Linked DNA regions of Homo sapiens: all the other regions are linked to region 5. Evidence: promoter capture Hi-C in 16 types of primary human blood cells and fetal thymus (Javierre and others, 2016). All regions are on one chromosome and are shown on one strand. The core of a region is centred on a gene start or on the middle of the fragment in contact, and the rest is flanking DNA. Distances in the headings are between cores, read along the strand shown.

What was found. Contacts are between HindIII fragments. The CHiCAGO score rates a contact against its expected background, and 5 or more counts as called.
Region 1: a contact is called between a fragment that was not itself captured here and the fragment with the promoter of MYO1G in region 5, in 6 of 17 cell types (neutrophils, naive B cells, total CD4 T cells and 3 more). The highest score is 7.0, in neutrophils.
Region 2: a contact is called between a fragment that was not itself captured here and the fragment with the promoter of MYO1G in region 5, in 1 of 17 cell types (activated CD4 T cells). The highest score is 5.3, in activated CD4 T cells.
Region 3: a contact is called between a fragment that was not itself captured here and the fragment with the promoter of MYO1G in region 5, in 4 of 17 cell types (total CD8 T cells, monocytes, total B cells and 1 more). The highest score is 7.6, in total CD8 T cells.
Region 4: a contact is called between a fragment that was not itself captured here and the fragment with the promoter of MYO1G in region 5, in 2 of 17 cell types (monocytes and total B cells). The highest score is 5.8, in monocytes.

What each region holds. Positions count from the first base shown.
Region 1 is chr7:44,557,214-44,559,914 of GRCh38, reverse strand. No RefSeq gene overlaps it. Among named protein-coding and RNA genes, the nearest start is that of DDX56, 15 kb to the left of the region's middle. The HindIII fragment of the contact is 4,749 bases long and covers 1-2,701 here.
Region 2 is chr7:44,719,608-44,722,307 of GRCh38, reverse strand. No RefSeq gene overlaps it. Among named protein-coding and RNA genes, the nearest start is that of ZMIZ2, 28 kb to the left of the region's middle. The HindIII fragment of the contact is 5,346 bases long and covers 1-2,700 here.
Region 3 is chr7:44,647,744-44,650,443 of GRCh38, reverse strand. It overlaps OGDH (oxoglutarate dehydrogenase), which reads right to left. Exons shown (of 23, transcript NM_002541.4): 4 at 2,685-2,700. Among named protein-coding and RNA genes, the nearest start is that of OGDH, 42 kb to the right of the region's middle. The HindIII fragment of the contact is 1,972 bases long and covers 457-2,428 here.
Region 4 is chr7:44,626,309-44,629,008 of GRCh38, reverse strand. All of the region lies in intron 2 of OGDH (oxoglutarate dehydrogenase), which reads right to left. Among named protein-coding and RNA genes, the nearest start is that of OGDH, 21 kb to the right of the region's middle. The HindIII fragment of the contact is 1,902 bases long and covers 407-2,308 here.
Region 5 is chr7:44,977,678-44,980,423 of GRCh38, reverse strand. It overlaps MYO1G (myosin IG), which reads left to right and starts at 1,409. Exons shown (of 22, transcript NM_033054.3): 1 at 1,409-1,557. The coding sequence starts at 1,463. RefSeq lists enhancers at 1,027-1,076, 1,107-1,176 and a silencer at 1,377-1,466. The HindIII fragment of the contact is 4,854 bases long and covers 836-2,746 here.

The DNA.
Region 1 (2,701 bases), core at 144-2,643, 420 kb after region 5:
TGTAGGAGGTATGGCCCCCGCCCCGGGAACCAGGACCTCAGCTTTTAGAAGCAAAATGCATGAATGCAGTGATGGTTAGGCCAAGTGCCAAGGGAGACAGCCAACCCCTGCTATCATGGCCAGAGGAGGGAGAGACCACTCAGGCCTGGGTGGTGGTAGAAATCCTCACTGCCAAGGAGATTGTATGCGCAGGCGTTGGGAAGGCCCGGAGAAGCCTGAGAGACAGGCTTGGCTTGGTTATAGCAGAGCTGGGTGGAGGGAGCAGATTAGTTGGCTTAGCACAGGCTTCCTGCAGGGTGGTGGTTCTTGGCCAGATTTGCCCCAGTGGGGCTTTTGGGAAAGTATAGAAATATTGTTGTTTTTTTTTTTTTGAGACAGAGTCTTGCTCCGTTGCCCAGGCTGGAGTGCAGTGGTGTGTTCTTGGCTCACTACAACCTCCATCCACCTCCCGGGTTCAAGTGATTCTCCTGCCTCAGCCTGCCAAGTAGTTGGGACTACAGGCATGTGCCACCACACCCAGCTAATCTTTGTATTTTTAGGAGATGGGGTTTCACCATGTTGGCCAGGCTGGTCATGAACTCCTAACCTCAAGTGATCTGCCCGCCTCAGCCTCCCAAAGTGCTGGGATTACAGGTGTGAGCCACTGTGCCAGCCAAGAAACATTTTAGGTTATCATATCTGGGCAATGGATGCTACTGGCTTTAGGTGGGAAGAGGCCGGGGATACTGTTAAAATCATGCAATGTACAAGGCAGCCCCCACAAGAGAGTTCTGTGGTTGAAAATGTCCGTAGTGTTGAGGTTGAGGACTCTGCTGTGGGGCAACAGTAGGAGAAGGGGTGCTAATAGTCAGGTGGTGGACAGCAGGGAATTACAGGTACATCAGTTAGGAGTGTATACAGCTGCAAGTAAGAGACCACCAGATGGCAGGAACAGTGGGAACAGAATGGTTTATCTTTTTCATGTGTCAAGATAAGTGGTGCTAAAGTCAGGCATGGTGGCCCTCACTTATAATCCCAGCAATTCAGGAGGCTGAAGAGTGAGGATCACTTGAGGCCAGGAGTTCAAGACCAGCCTGGGCAACACAGTGAAATGCCATCTCTAAAAATAAAAATTAAAAAAATTAGCCAGGGGCTGGGTGCAGTGGCTCACGCCTGTAATCCCAGCACTTTGGGAGGCTAAGGCGGGTGGATCACCTGAGGTCAGGAGTTCGAGACCAGCCTGGCCAACATGGTGAAACCCTGTCTCTACTAAAAATATAAAATTAGCTGGGCATGGTGGCACACCTGTAATTCTACTTACTCGGGAGGCTGAGGCAAGGGAATCACTTAGAACTGGGGAGGCGTAAGTTGCAGTGAGCTGAGTCACGCCATTGCACTCCAGCCTGGGCGACAGATCAAGACCCTGTCAAGGAAAGGAAAGGAGAGGGGAGGGGAGGGGAGGGGGGAGGGGGGAGGGGGGAGGAGAAGGAGGGAGGGGGAAGATTAGCTAGGCATGGTGATGAGCACCTGTAGTCCCTCCTAGCTACTCCGAAGGCTACGGTGGGAGAACTGCTTGAGCCTGGGAGGTCAAGGCTGCAGTTAGTGATGATCGTGTCACTGCACTCCAGCCTGGGTGAAAAAGTGAGACCCTGTCTCAAAAAGAAAAAAGACAGATAGGAAGAAAGAAAGAAGAAAAGAAAGAAAAAGAGAGAGAGAGAGAGAGGGAGGGAGGGAGGGAAAGGAAAGGAAGGAAGGAAATGCATCTGATTTTTGTGTATTGATTTTGTATCCTATAATTTTGCCAAGTTCATTTATTAGTTCTAGTAATTTTTTTTATTAAAAAAAATTTTCAAGATAGGGTCTCACCCTGTTGTCTAGGCTGGAGTGCAGTGGCACGGTTATAGCTCACTGCAGTCTCCATTGCCAGGACTCAAACAGTCCTCCTGCCTCAGCCTCCTGAATAGCTGGGACTACAGGCATGCCAGCATGCCTGGCTAATTATTTTATTTTTTGTAGAGATGGGGTCTCACGTTGTTGCCCAGGCTGGTCTTAAACTCCTGGGCTCAAGTGATTGTCCTGCCTCAGTCTCCCAAAGTGCTGGGATTATAGGCATGCTCCACCACACTCAGACAAGTTATAATACATTTTCAGTGGCGTATTTACTGTTTTAGAATATAAAATCTATCTGCAAATAGAGATAAGTTTAATTTTTTTCTAATTTGGACACTCTTTTCCTTCCTCCCTCCCCTTCCCCTTTCCCTTCCCCTTCCCTTTTCCCTCCCTCCCTCTCTCCCTCTCTTTCTCTCTCTCTCTTTCTCTCTTTTCTCTTTTCTTTTCATTTCATTTTTGCCAAATTGCTCTGGTTAGAACTTTTAACACTATGTTGAATAGAAGTGGTGACAGTATCTCATTCCTAGACACTTTTCGAAAGAAGACATACATGCAACCAACAAACATTTGAAAAAAAACTCAATATCACTGATCATTAAAGAAACAGAAATCAAAACCACAATGAGATACCATCTCACATCAGCCAGAATGGCTATTATTAAAAAGTAAAAAAAAGAAAAAATAACATGCTGGCAAGGTCATAGAGAAAAGGGAACACTTGTACAGTGTTGGTGGGAGTGTAAATTAGGTCAACCATTGTGGAAAGCAGCGTGGCAATTCCTCAGAGACCTAAAGGCAGAACTACCATTCGACCCAGCAATCCCATTACTGG
Region 2 (2,700 bases), core at 110-2,609, 260 kb after region 5:
CCTTATCTGGACTTCTGTCTGAGTCCTAGGCTCTACACCTACTACATCATTAAAATCCCGAACTTACAAAGGTTGGCAGTAAAAGTAAAAGTCACTAAGAGTTAACACTGTAACATGTAATTGAGACTACTGAAGAAACAATTTTACATGCAAGGTGTGTAAAAAAGTGAAATGTGTTTTTGGTAAAAGATTATAAGAAGTCATGGGAATGTACATTTTTTTGACTAGATTAATGGGTTAAATGATTGTATTAAGTTAGATGGAATAAAGCTGAAGGTTTAAGCAAATTGTGGAAGGTTTGTAAAAAATTAATCCTGTAGACTGGGCATGGTGGCTCACTCCCGTAATCCCACCACTTTGGGAGGCAAAGGCAGGTGGATCACTTGAGGTTGGGAGTTCGAGACCAGCCTGGACAACATGGTGAAACCCCATCTATACTAAAAATACAAAAAAAATTAGCTGTGCATGGTGGCACACGCCTGTAGTCCCAGCTACACAGGAGGCTGAGGCAGGAGAATTGCTTGAACCTGGGAAGTGGAGATTGCAGTGAGCCAAGATTGTGCCACTGCACTCCAGCCTGGGCAACAGAGCGAGACTCCATCTTGGAAAAAAAAAAAAAAAACAGAAAAAAATAATAATCTTGTTAAAAAAATTCAGTGTATGGGCCAGACATGGTGGCTCACGCCTGTAATCCCAGCATTTTGGGAGGAGGCTGAGTCGGGTGGATCACTTGAGGTCAGGAGTTCAAGACCAGCCTGGCCAACATGGCAAAACCCAGTCTCTACTAAAAATTAAAAAACATTAGCTGGGCATGGTGCTATGAGCCTGTAATCCCAGCTACTCAGGGGGCTGAGACATGAGAATCACTTGAACCTAGGAGGTGGAGGTTGTAGTAAGCCAAGATCATGCCACTGCACTTTAGCCTGGATGACAGAGTGAGACTCTGTCTAAAAAAAAAAAAAATTCTGTGCGTGAATATATTGGCTAAAGTTAAGGGGATATTATTCAGTTTTTCTGTAAATTAAACATTGGAATAAAAGCAAAATATGTTTTTCTTAAAGCAAAAACCTGCTTATAATATGCTCTTTAACAAAAATTTGTAAAGGGTTATAAAAGGTTTATGAGAATCTTACCTTATGGTTAAACATTGACGTTGGGTAGATATGTCTATAAGGTTTTATTGAGAATTGGGTTTAACATTAATAATACACTAATGTAAAGGTGAAAGTTTGTCTTATTTGGTACAAAAATCATACAGGAAACATTGTCAAATTGAAATGGTATTTGGCTTTCTTGAGGCTGTATTTTTATAAATATGTTCTTGGTATGTGTTCCAAAATAATGGGAAACTCATAATTCAGATATGACTTAGTATATGTTATTAATAATTATAATTGTTACATAAAGTCATTGTATTCCACAGAGGTAACCAAATTTCTTTGTCAATTGTGTTGTTGACTGTGGCCGTCCTAAGACATTTTGTCATCCATAAATAATTGTTGTCTTGTTTTGGTCCTCTTTAGAAGGTGGTTTATAATCAACTATAGAACTCTAACAGATGTTCTTAAACGCAGGTTTCTGATAACTTTTGAGATTGTGACATTAGAGTAGAGGAAAATACTTTCAGGACTCTCATGAAGAGCTGAAATGTTCATGAATATCAAACAGGAGTTAACTGCATGTAATAAACTAATAGAAGCCTGAAGTAATCTTTTTTAACATTTGCTTAAAATGTTACTAATCCTTTGCTTTGTTTTTCAGAGTTAAGAAAAAATTTCTTTTTAGCTATTTACAGCTTTTAACAATTGAGTAAAGTGAACAAAATTTAGAGCATATTTGTTTCTCTCTACCTGGTTTCTCCAGAATTTGGAAACTAGTTGTGAGTATTCTTAACTTATGGTGATGTAGTTATTGGCATAAGTGCAATAAGAATCTGTTTTTAGCCAGGCGCAGTGCCTCACGCCTGTAATCCCGGGACTTTGGGAAGCCGAGGTAGGTGGATCACCCAAAGTCAGGAGTTCAAGACCACCCTGGGCAACATGGTGAAACCTTGTCTCCACTAAAAATACAAAAATGAGTCAGGCATGGTGCTGGGCACCTGTATGCTGTCCCAGCTACTCGGGAGGCTGAGGCGGCAGAATTGCTTGAACCTGGGAGGCGGAGGTTGCAGTAAGCTGAGATCATGCCATTGCACTCCACCCTGGTGACAAGAGCAAAACTCTGTCCCCGCACCCCCCCAAAAAAAGAGTCTGTTTTTGCAACAGGACACGATTGGAGAAACTGGTTATTTTAGGCCAGGTGCAGTGGCTCACACCTGTAATTCCAGCACTTTGGGAGGCTGAGGTGGGTGGATCACAAGGTCAGGAGTTCAAGACTAGCCTGGCCAAGATGGTGAAACCCCGTCTCTATTAAAAATACAAAAAAATGGCCAGGTGTGGTGGCTCACGCCTGTAATCCCAGCACTTTGGGAGGCCAAGGCGGGCAGATCACGAGGTCAGGAGTTCAAGACCCACCTGGACAACATGATGAAACCCCGTCTCTACTAAAAATACAAAAATTAGCTGGGCACAGTGGCACACCCCTGTAATCCCAGCTACTCAGGAGGCTGAGGCAGGAGAATTGCTTGAACCCAGGAAACGGAGGTTACAGTGAGCCAAAATTACACCACTGCACTCCATCCTGGGTGACAGAGTGAGACTC
Region 3 (2,700 bases), core at 193-2,692, 330 kb after region 5:
TTACAGATGAGGTGATGAGGCACAGAGAGGTTAAGCAACTAGCCCAAGGTCACACAGCTAGTAATAGTGGGCTGGGATTCCAATGCAGGGAGTGTGGCTCCAGAGTCCCGGCTCTCTGAGGTTCAAATGAGACGACGGGTCTTGAAGTGTTCTACAAACTGTCTAGCGGTCACATCTGACCTGCTGTTTTCTTGAAGACCTGCATACATCAAGGGTGAGAGTTCGAGACCAATTTTCCTACAGATACAAATGTTTTAACAAGTTTACGCGGTTTCCATTTTTTGTACCTGAAGACTAGTGGGATTTTTAGGTCACACTATTTCAAATCCACAGGATTAAAATGCACCTTCCTCTTGAAACGTGGAGACTACTCCCTGACTCTCTCTCTCAGTGGTTCCAAAGGGCTCCTGGCCAGAGATGTCAGAAGTTTTCCTCCTCAAAGGATTTCAGGAAGCTTTAGGGCCACTTCTGTATGTTTTAGTTTCTTGGTTTATAAAGTCCTCTTGTCCTCTCACCCTCACCATGATGTTGTTGCTGAATCTGGAACCACAAACCTCACAGAAATACTGAGGACACTATTCCAGAGTGAAATATATGGTAAGACCTTGTGATGGCCTGGGAAGAGATTCCCAGATTCTGGCCCTGCCTCGGCCACTAATGAGATGGGAAATTAGTGCGTATGTTGACAGTGCTTAGGGTTTCTCACCCTTAAAAGACTATGCTGGGTTGGGTTTACCTAGGTGTGGCCCCTCTTGATATTAGTCTGAAGGGGAAGAGAGGAGAGCTTTAGAGCTCCCCTGGTTATACTAACGTGCACAGTTGGGACAAAGAGCTGGGACAATGCAGGTTCTGGAAGGAGAGGGAGAAGTCAGTCACTTCATCTGCTCCTCTCCTGTTCGAATGTTTTGCTGCTTGTAAAAAATGAGCATTCCAGCCAGGCGCGGTGGCTCACACCAGTAATCTCAGCACTTTGGGAGGCTGAGGTGGGCGACATGGTGAAACCCCGTTTCTACTAAAAATACAAAAATTAGCTGGGTGTGGTGGTGCGCTCCTGTAGTCCCAGCTACTCAGGAGGCTGAGGCAGGAGAACTGCTTGAACCTGGGAGGCAGAGGTTGCAGTGAGCCGAGATTATGCTGCTGCACTCCAGCCTGGGTGACAGAGCAAGACCCCATCTCAAAAAAAAAAAAAAAAAAAAAACAACAGAAAATGAGCATTCCGCAGCTCTCCTACCCTGCCTAAATGCAGAGGGAGGTTTTCCTCTGAAGAGGTGGCTTCCAGATGCAAGTCCCTGTGCTCTTCATCAGGGAGCAGCAAGTCTACCAGCTGGGGAGTTTGGCCTGCTCTGAGCACCTGAAGAGGATCCCACAGGTCTAGAAGTCTCTGGGGGCTGGAGAGGCACAGGGCAGACAGGCTGTGATGGGACTGGGGGTGCCAGCAGGGAGGTTTGCTGTACTAAGGGGTGAGCAGTAGGGAAGAGGCTCCAAGACCTCCGGGGACACTGCAAAGAGAGGCCCTCTTCTTGGGAGCACAAAGTTGTCACCACGGAATGAAAAAGCAGGGTTCAACTCATGCCCAGTCTACCATCTGAACTGGCCTTAATCAATAAAATTCAAGAGGATTTCTCTAAACTCCCTTCCTAAATCCGCTAAAGGGCTGGTATTAAAAAAACAATTACAAACCATCAATGCCAATTCCAAAGTCAATGATGTTTGATGATTAATGCCTCATCCCCTAGACATAACTTAGTAATGCCTATAAAGATATCCAGGCACTGCAGAGCCTTAGAGACTGTCTGTACCATTCCCCAAAAGTGCCTGTGAGGAGGCTAATTTCGTACCCATCCCAAGAGGAGTATTAGGCAAGTAAGTGATCATCAATTTCATCAGCATGCACAGTGTCTATTGTGAACACCCTGGCCATTTAAAAATTAGTCACATCATCATTTCTTTAGTACAGGTTAGCAGCACAGTGACATAAAGCAGACTAACTCTGCAAAGCAACTGCAGGTGAGAGCCCAGCCACAACACCCACCTCACTTCATGAGGAGGAGGGGGTGTAGGTGGGACTATCTTCTGGCAACCGTGACAAAACCCCAGTGTGCTCCATACATGCACCTCCCAAAGGCCCTGACCTCCTGACGCTGTGGGAATGCCTTCCAAAGTTTCCTCAGTGTGATCACCAGCAATTACAAATCAGGAGACCCAACTGCACAACTTGCTCTAGAATTCGTCCCCTAAGGGACATGGCCTCCAGTCAAGGGCAGGCCACACTGGGCTTCAGAAAAGGATGGCTGTGTCAGCAGTTCCTGAGCAAGGCCTCATGGACATGCCTCACTGAAGGCAGTGCTGCACTGACATTTGAAAACCTGAAGCCAAAAGAGCTATACTCTGAAGTGCTTCTGATCCACCTGCCCCAGGTGGACAAGCTTTTTCCCTGTGCCACAAACCTTTCTGTCCAAAATTTTATTTTCAAATTTTGAGACTTAAGACAATCTGGCTGAAAAAGTAAGATAAAAATAACTTGCCCAAAACACACTAAGGCTACAATACCGATAAATTTCAAGTGATCAGAATGAAAGGAAACTTAAGAGCCTTTCCCTCCTGCCTGGACATCCTGGCTACCACAGGTCGTGGCACAGCGAGAGGAGCTCAAGCAACGCAGCTGACTGCTCTCAGACCCTCACCAAGTTTGTCTGTGGA
Region 4 (2,700 bases), core at 108-2,607, 350 kb after region 5:
AGGGGTCAGTGAGGAGCACAAATGCCAGACTAGAACAGAGACGAAAGTCTAGGACAGGACCAAAGGTAGGAACAAAAGGGAGATGGCAGATGGGCCCACCACAGAGACAGACCCAGGTCAGCTAGTTAACCGGATTCTGTTCTGGGGAGTGGACTTAGGGTAAAAAAGGTACTTGCAGCTCTGATTTGCTAAAATATTTTACCACAAATATAATTTTCACATCAGTTAAGCATTTTAAGAATAGAAGTTTTTTTTAAGAGGCTGGGTGTGGTGGCTCACATCTGTAATCCCAGCACTTTGGGAGGCCAAGCTGGGAGGATTGCTTGAGCCCAGGAGTTCAAGACCAGTCTGGACAACATAAAGAGACTCCATCTCTATTTACATTTTTTTATTTTTTTAAAAAGCTTTCTATTTTATTTTTAATAGAGACAAGGCCTTGCCTTGTCCAGGCTGGTCCCAAACTCCTGGACTCAAGCAATCCTCCTGCCTCAGCCTCCCAAAGTATCAGGATTACAGGCATGGCTCCTACTTACATTAAAAAAAAGTTTTTAATTAAAAAATAAATAAAATTAAAAATAAGGAATACAACGACCAATTATAAAGTGTAAAACCAAATGTAAAAAAAAGTAAAATAAAAATTAAAAAACAAAACAAAACAAAATGTAAAAGGGCAGCTTTAAGAGAAGAGTAAATATTTAAACATGGACTGAGAAAAAATTCTATTAGAGAATTAGCCTGTTAATTTTATTGGGTGTGGTTATGAAAACAATTACTTAACAGTTAGTTACACTGATGCATTTATGCCAGAAATGACACAGGTCTGGAATTTGCCTTAAAATACTCCAGTGTCTACTCTCCTCAAACCCCAAATAAACCAACAAATAAAAAAGTCACTGGGGTAGGGAATAGATTTTTAAGACAGCTGTTGAAGCTGCGTGACCAGTCTCCTCATTAGGCTTATCATCTACTCTTCTCTCTACTGTTATGTATGCTTGGAAACACTATAAAACACAGATTTAAAAATAACAATGGGGCTGGGTGCAGTGGCTCACGCCTGTAATCCCAGCACTTTGGGAGGCTGAGGTGGGCAGACTGATTGAGGTCAGGAGTTTGAGACCAGCCTGGCCAACATGGTGAAACCCCGTCTCTACTAAAAATACAAAAATTAGCCAGGCGTGGTGGCGCGTATCTGTAATCCTGGCTACTCGGGAGGCTGAGGCACGAGAATCACTTGAACCAGGAGGTGGAGGTTGCAGTGAGCTGAGATCACCTCACTGCACTGCAGCCTGGGTGACAGAGTGAGACTCCATCTCAAAAAAATAAATAAAATAAATAAAAATAAAAACAACAATGGGAAAGTAGTGCCAAAGGGCAGGAGAGGAAGATGCTGAGTTTGTTCCTTTTCTGCTATATGAGTTTAGTCCTTGCAGCCCCCCATAAGCTCTCTGAAAATAAGTACGGAATCCGACCTCAGGACATTTCTGATGTTTAAACAGAAGATGAGATAGATGATCTATCTAAATCCTACAGCACTTCTAATTTTATTATCTCTATTTAAACTATTATTATGTCTATTTAAACTATGTGATCTAAAATAAGAGCACAAATAAAGTGAAATGCCTCTAAGGCTATGGATCCTAAACTTTCATGGGTGACAGATGCTTTGAAATTTGGACAGAAGTTATGGATTATCTCCCTTGAAAAACATGCACATGGCCAGGCGCCGTGGCTCACGCCTGTAATCCCAGCACTCTGGGAGGCCAAGGCAGGCGGATCACGAGGCCAGGAGTTCAAGACCAGCCCGACTAACATGGTGAAACCCCGTCTCTACTAAAAATACAAAAATTAGCCGGGCGTGGTGGCACAGGCCTGTAATCCCAGCTACTCAGGAGGCTGAGGCAGGAGAATCGCTTGAGCCTCGGAGGTGGAGGTTGCAGTGAGCTGAGATTGCACCACTGCACTCCAGTCTGAGCGACAGAGTGAGACTCCATCTCAAAAACAAAACAAAACAAAAAAACAAACAAACAAAAAACATGCACACACCACATACTGGGCCCAATTCAACTTAAAGAGGACCCACCTTGCCGTCTGGGATGGCAGAGGAGTGATGAAGTCCGTGCTGGATGACAACCGGGATTGCTGGAGGGCACGCCCACTTTTAACCATCCTGTCCCCTCCCCTCTACAAGCAGGGAGGGGCAGAGCATGCATGTGATTCCCACACTGTGCCCCCTGGAGACTCCCAGCAACAGAAACAGGCATAAAGACATAAAGCCACCATGCCCCCACAAAAACCATCTTCAAAAGCTTCCAGCAGGAGCAGCTATGATGGCAACAGGCCCAGTGTCCACAGCACTGTGGCCACACTGCTCACAGAGTGCACCTTTTACCCATGAATCACTGAGGACCAAACCTTCACAAGGACATGCAGTCTCAGCCAGGTGCTCTTTACCTTTCAGACACTAGGCACTGTCATTTAGGAGCTACTGACTCCAAATCCTAACATCACTGAAAACAACTTGGTTGGTTCCAAGAAAAGGTTATGTTTGAGAAAAGGAAGGCAAAAGAATAGGCCTGGGCACATAATAGTCCTTGATTCTGAAACCTCAGGGCTCAGTTTTATTCTAGATATAATCTGCAGGTGTAGGGGTGTGTGTGTGTGTGTGTGTGTGTAGGGGTGTGTGTGTGTGTGTGTGTGTGT
Region 5 (2,746 bases), core at 160-2,659:
TGCCCACTTACAAATTTGGGGATTTTTCAGGCCAGTGGCCCCTTATTGCAGTGGTGCGTGACTCAGTTTTATTAGGTACTTGAATAAGTACTTTCAGTTTTATCAGGAATGCATTTGCTTTAAGGTATTCGAGAGAAAAAAATAAACTTAACTTGCCTATCCATTACTTCAAAGTTTAAAAAATGGGATGACTGAAAGACAATAGTTAAACTAGTGCTTATGAGTACAACAAATCTCAAAGGCAGCACATGAATGACTGAAGTTTGGGAATTCTGGAGTCTGCCCTTTGACCTCCCTGTATGAGGGAAGGGGTGAAAGAGAAATGTCACCAGTCTATTTGTAGGATGAGAGAGAACTGCATCCATTTGACCTTTGATGAGAGAATCGCCCCAGTGTTCCTAGAGGATGGGTGTGACCTGCCCCAGTCTGTCCTGGGATGAAAAAGAACTTTTTCCAGTCTGCCTGGAAGCTAAGAGAACTGCACCCCTCCCACTTCTTCCAGGAGCACTAAGTGTCAGGAATGCAGTGTCTGGAGATTTTGGCCACTCCCTAAATGCAGCCGCTCCCCAAATGCGCTGCCTCATCTTCAAAGTGCAGGGACAGCAGCTCTGAGATGAGGCCACAGGGCTCCAGGCATGTTCCTGGTCCTCACTGCAGTTTATGGGGGATCGGCTGGACACAAGTACAAGGCAGAGGACAGTTAGGGGCACAGGGGTCCCACTGAAGGCCAGCCCCATGCAGAGGATGCTCTGGGGTCCTCTGTCCCTCCCCCGTGGCTGGGGTGGGGAATTGCAGTGCTAGGACCACTGGCCCTTGGCAGGTCACACAAGAAGCTTTGCTCGTCTACACCCCAGTGTGGCCTTCACACTGCAAAGAAGGCTGTTGCCCCCACCCCAAAGGCCTGGGCATTAGGATCCTTTTTCATTTTTGTATTAATGTACAATGTACATACAGTATATTGCATCTAGTGTTCAGTTCTGACTTGAGAGACACACACAGCCAGGTAACCAAGATCACGTCAAAAAATCTTTCTTTAAAGTCCCACAAGTGACTCTAACGTGCTGCCAGGGTTGGAAGCCAACCCACGGAGTCTTGTCTCCTGCTTGTGGGTGGAGGGGAGCTTCCGAAGGAGGCCAGCGAAGAACCCTCCAAAGCGGGGAGGACCCAGCATCCGGCCCCTCGCCCCTGGCGTGCAAACGGGTCAGACCGTTAGGCACAGCCTCCTTGTGGGGCGCAGGGACAGGAAGCAGGGTTTAGAGCACCTCGAGGGGGAAGGAGTGGCAAGTGCGGAGGGCAGCCCCTCCCAGGACTAGAACCCACTTCCTACTTTACACCAGCACTGGAGGAGGCTGGTGGGGCAGGGCGGGGGCGGTGGGGCCTCCCCTAGCCTTCCCTCCCCCTCTCCTTCACTGTCCTTCCAGCAGGCACAGGAAGGTGAGGCAAGGTGTTTCCAGCCGGCAGGATGGAGGACGAGGAAGGCCCTGAGTATGGCAAACCTGACTTTGTGCTTTTGGACCAAGTGACCATGGAGGACTTCATGAGGAACCTGCAGCTCAGGTAGGCCCAGGGCAGGAGGCAGTGGCTCCCCTCCTCCAGGGTCTCCCACCTTGCGTCCTCGCAGAGACCTGAGGGAAAGAGGAAGGCACGCTGCTGTCCAAGGGAGGGGGCAGTGGCACACACCCACCCAGACCAGATGGGGCTGAAATGAGTGCCTCAAAGCACGGCCCCAGGGGACAGGAACAGACAAGGAGGCAACTGTCCCTGTCAGGGCTGGCAAGTCAGCACCGGAGCTGCCCACCACCTCAACCCACCCCTGCCTCCCACACAGTCCAGGCATCTTCTGCCCCTTCTTTCCTGCCCGACGGGGCCAGGGCATGACACTTCTTGGACAGATACATACCAGGCACTATCTTTCCAGGAGGGACCAGGGGCACCTCCCTCCAGCCACTTCCCAGCCAGTTGTTGATGCTCCCTCGATGCATCTCATCCATGGGGCCTGGCCTGAGCCCTGGGGACACTGAGATGAAGCAGTCAGGCTCCACCCTAGGGTCCAAACATTCCCACCAAGTTGAGGTGACATTCTCCTGGGGTACATGGAGTATCACAGGACACAGTTGGTAGAAGTGATATTGGAGCCCAATTTACCATCAAGGAGGGCAGGTGGAGGGCAGGGAGAAGCCCGGGAGGTAGGGGCATGGCACAGTAGGGTGGCCATACAGGCAGCTGGGCTTCCTGCCAGGACTCCCAGGGAGGGGCAGAAGGCCACTCGCTGTGTACTCCGGAAGCTCCCTGGGGAGAGCTTGGGGACCAGGATCCCCACTAAGCACCGAAGGCAAGAGACCACGAGCCTGGCTCAAAGAGGAGGGCTAGCCAGGACGTGAGCTAAGCACTTTGTGCACATTGTTCTACCTCATTCTTATAAAATGAGCTTATGAAACATTGTCCTCTCTATTTTGATGAGGAGAACACTGAGCCCTGGAGACGTGGGTGACTTGTGCCCTCATCCCCAGCTTGTAGGAGGATGGGAGCTAGGCCCAGGAAAACCCATGTCAGAGGTGGTGGAGAAAGAGGAACCTCAGGACAGGCCCACCCAGGACAGGCTGCCGGGAGACAGGGCCATCCAGGGAAGGGTGGGTACCACACACCAAGGGGAGATGGGTCTGAGGGGCAGGCCTGCCAGTCCTCCTCCCAGGGGCAGAAAGGTCAAGAGAAGGGCAGACATCCACCCCCACTGGGGACCAGGTTT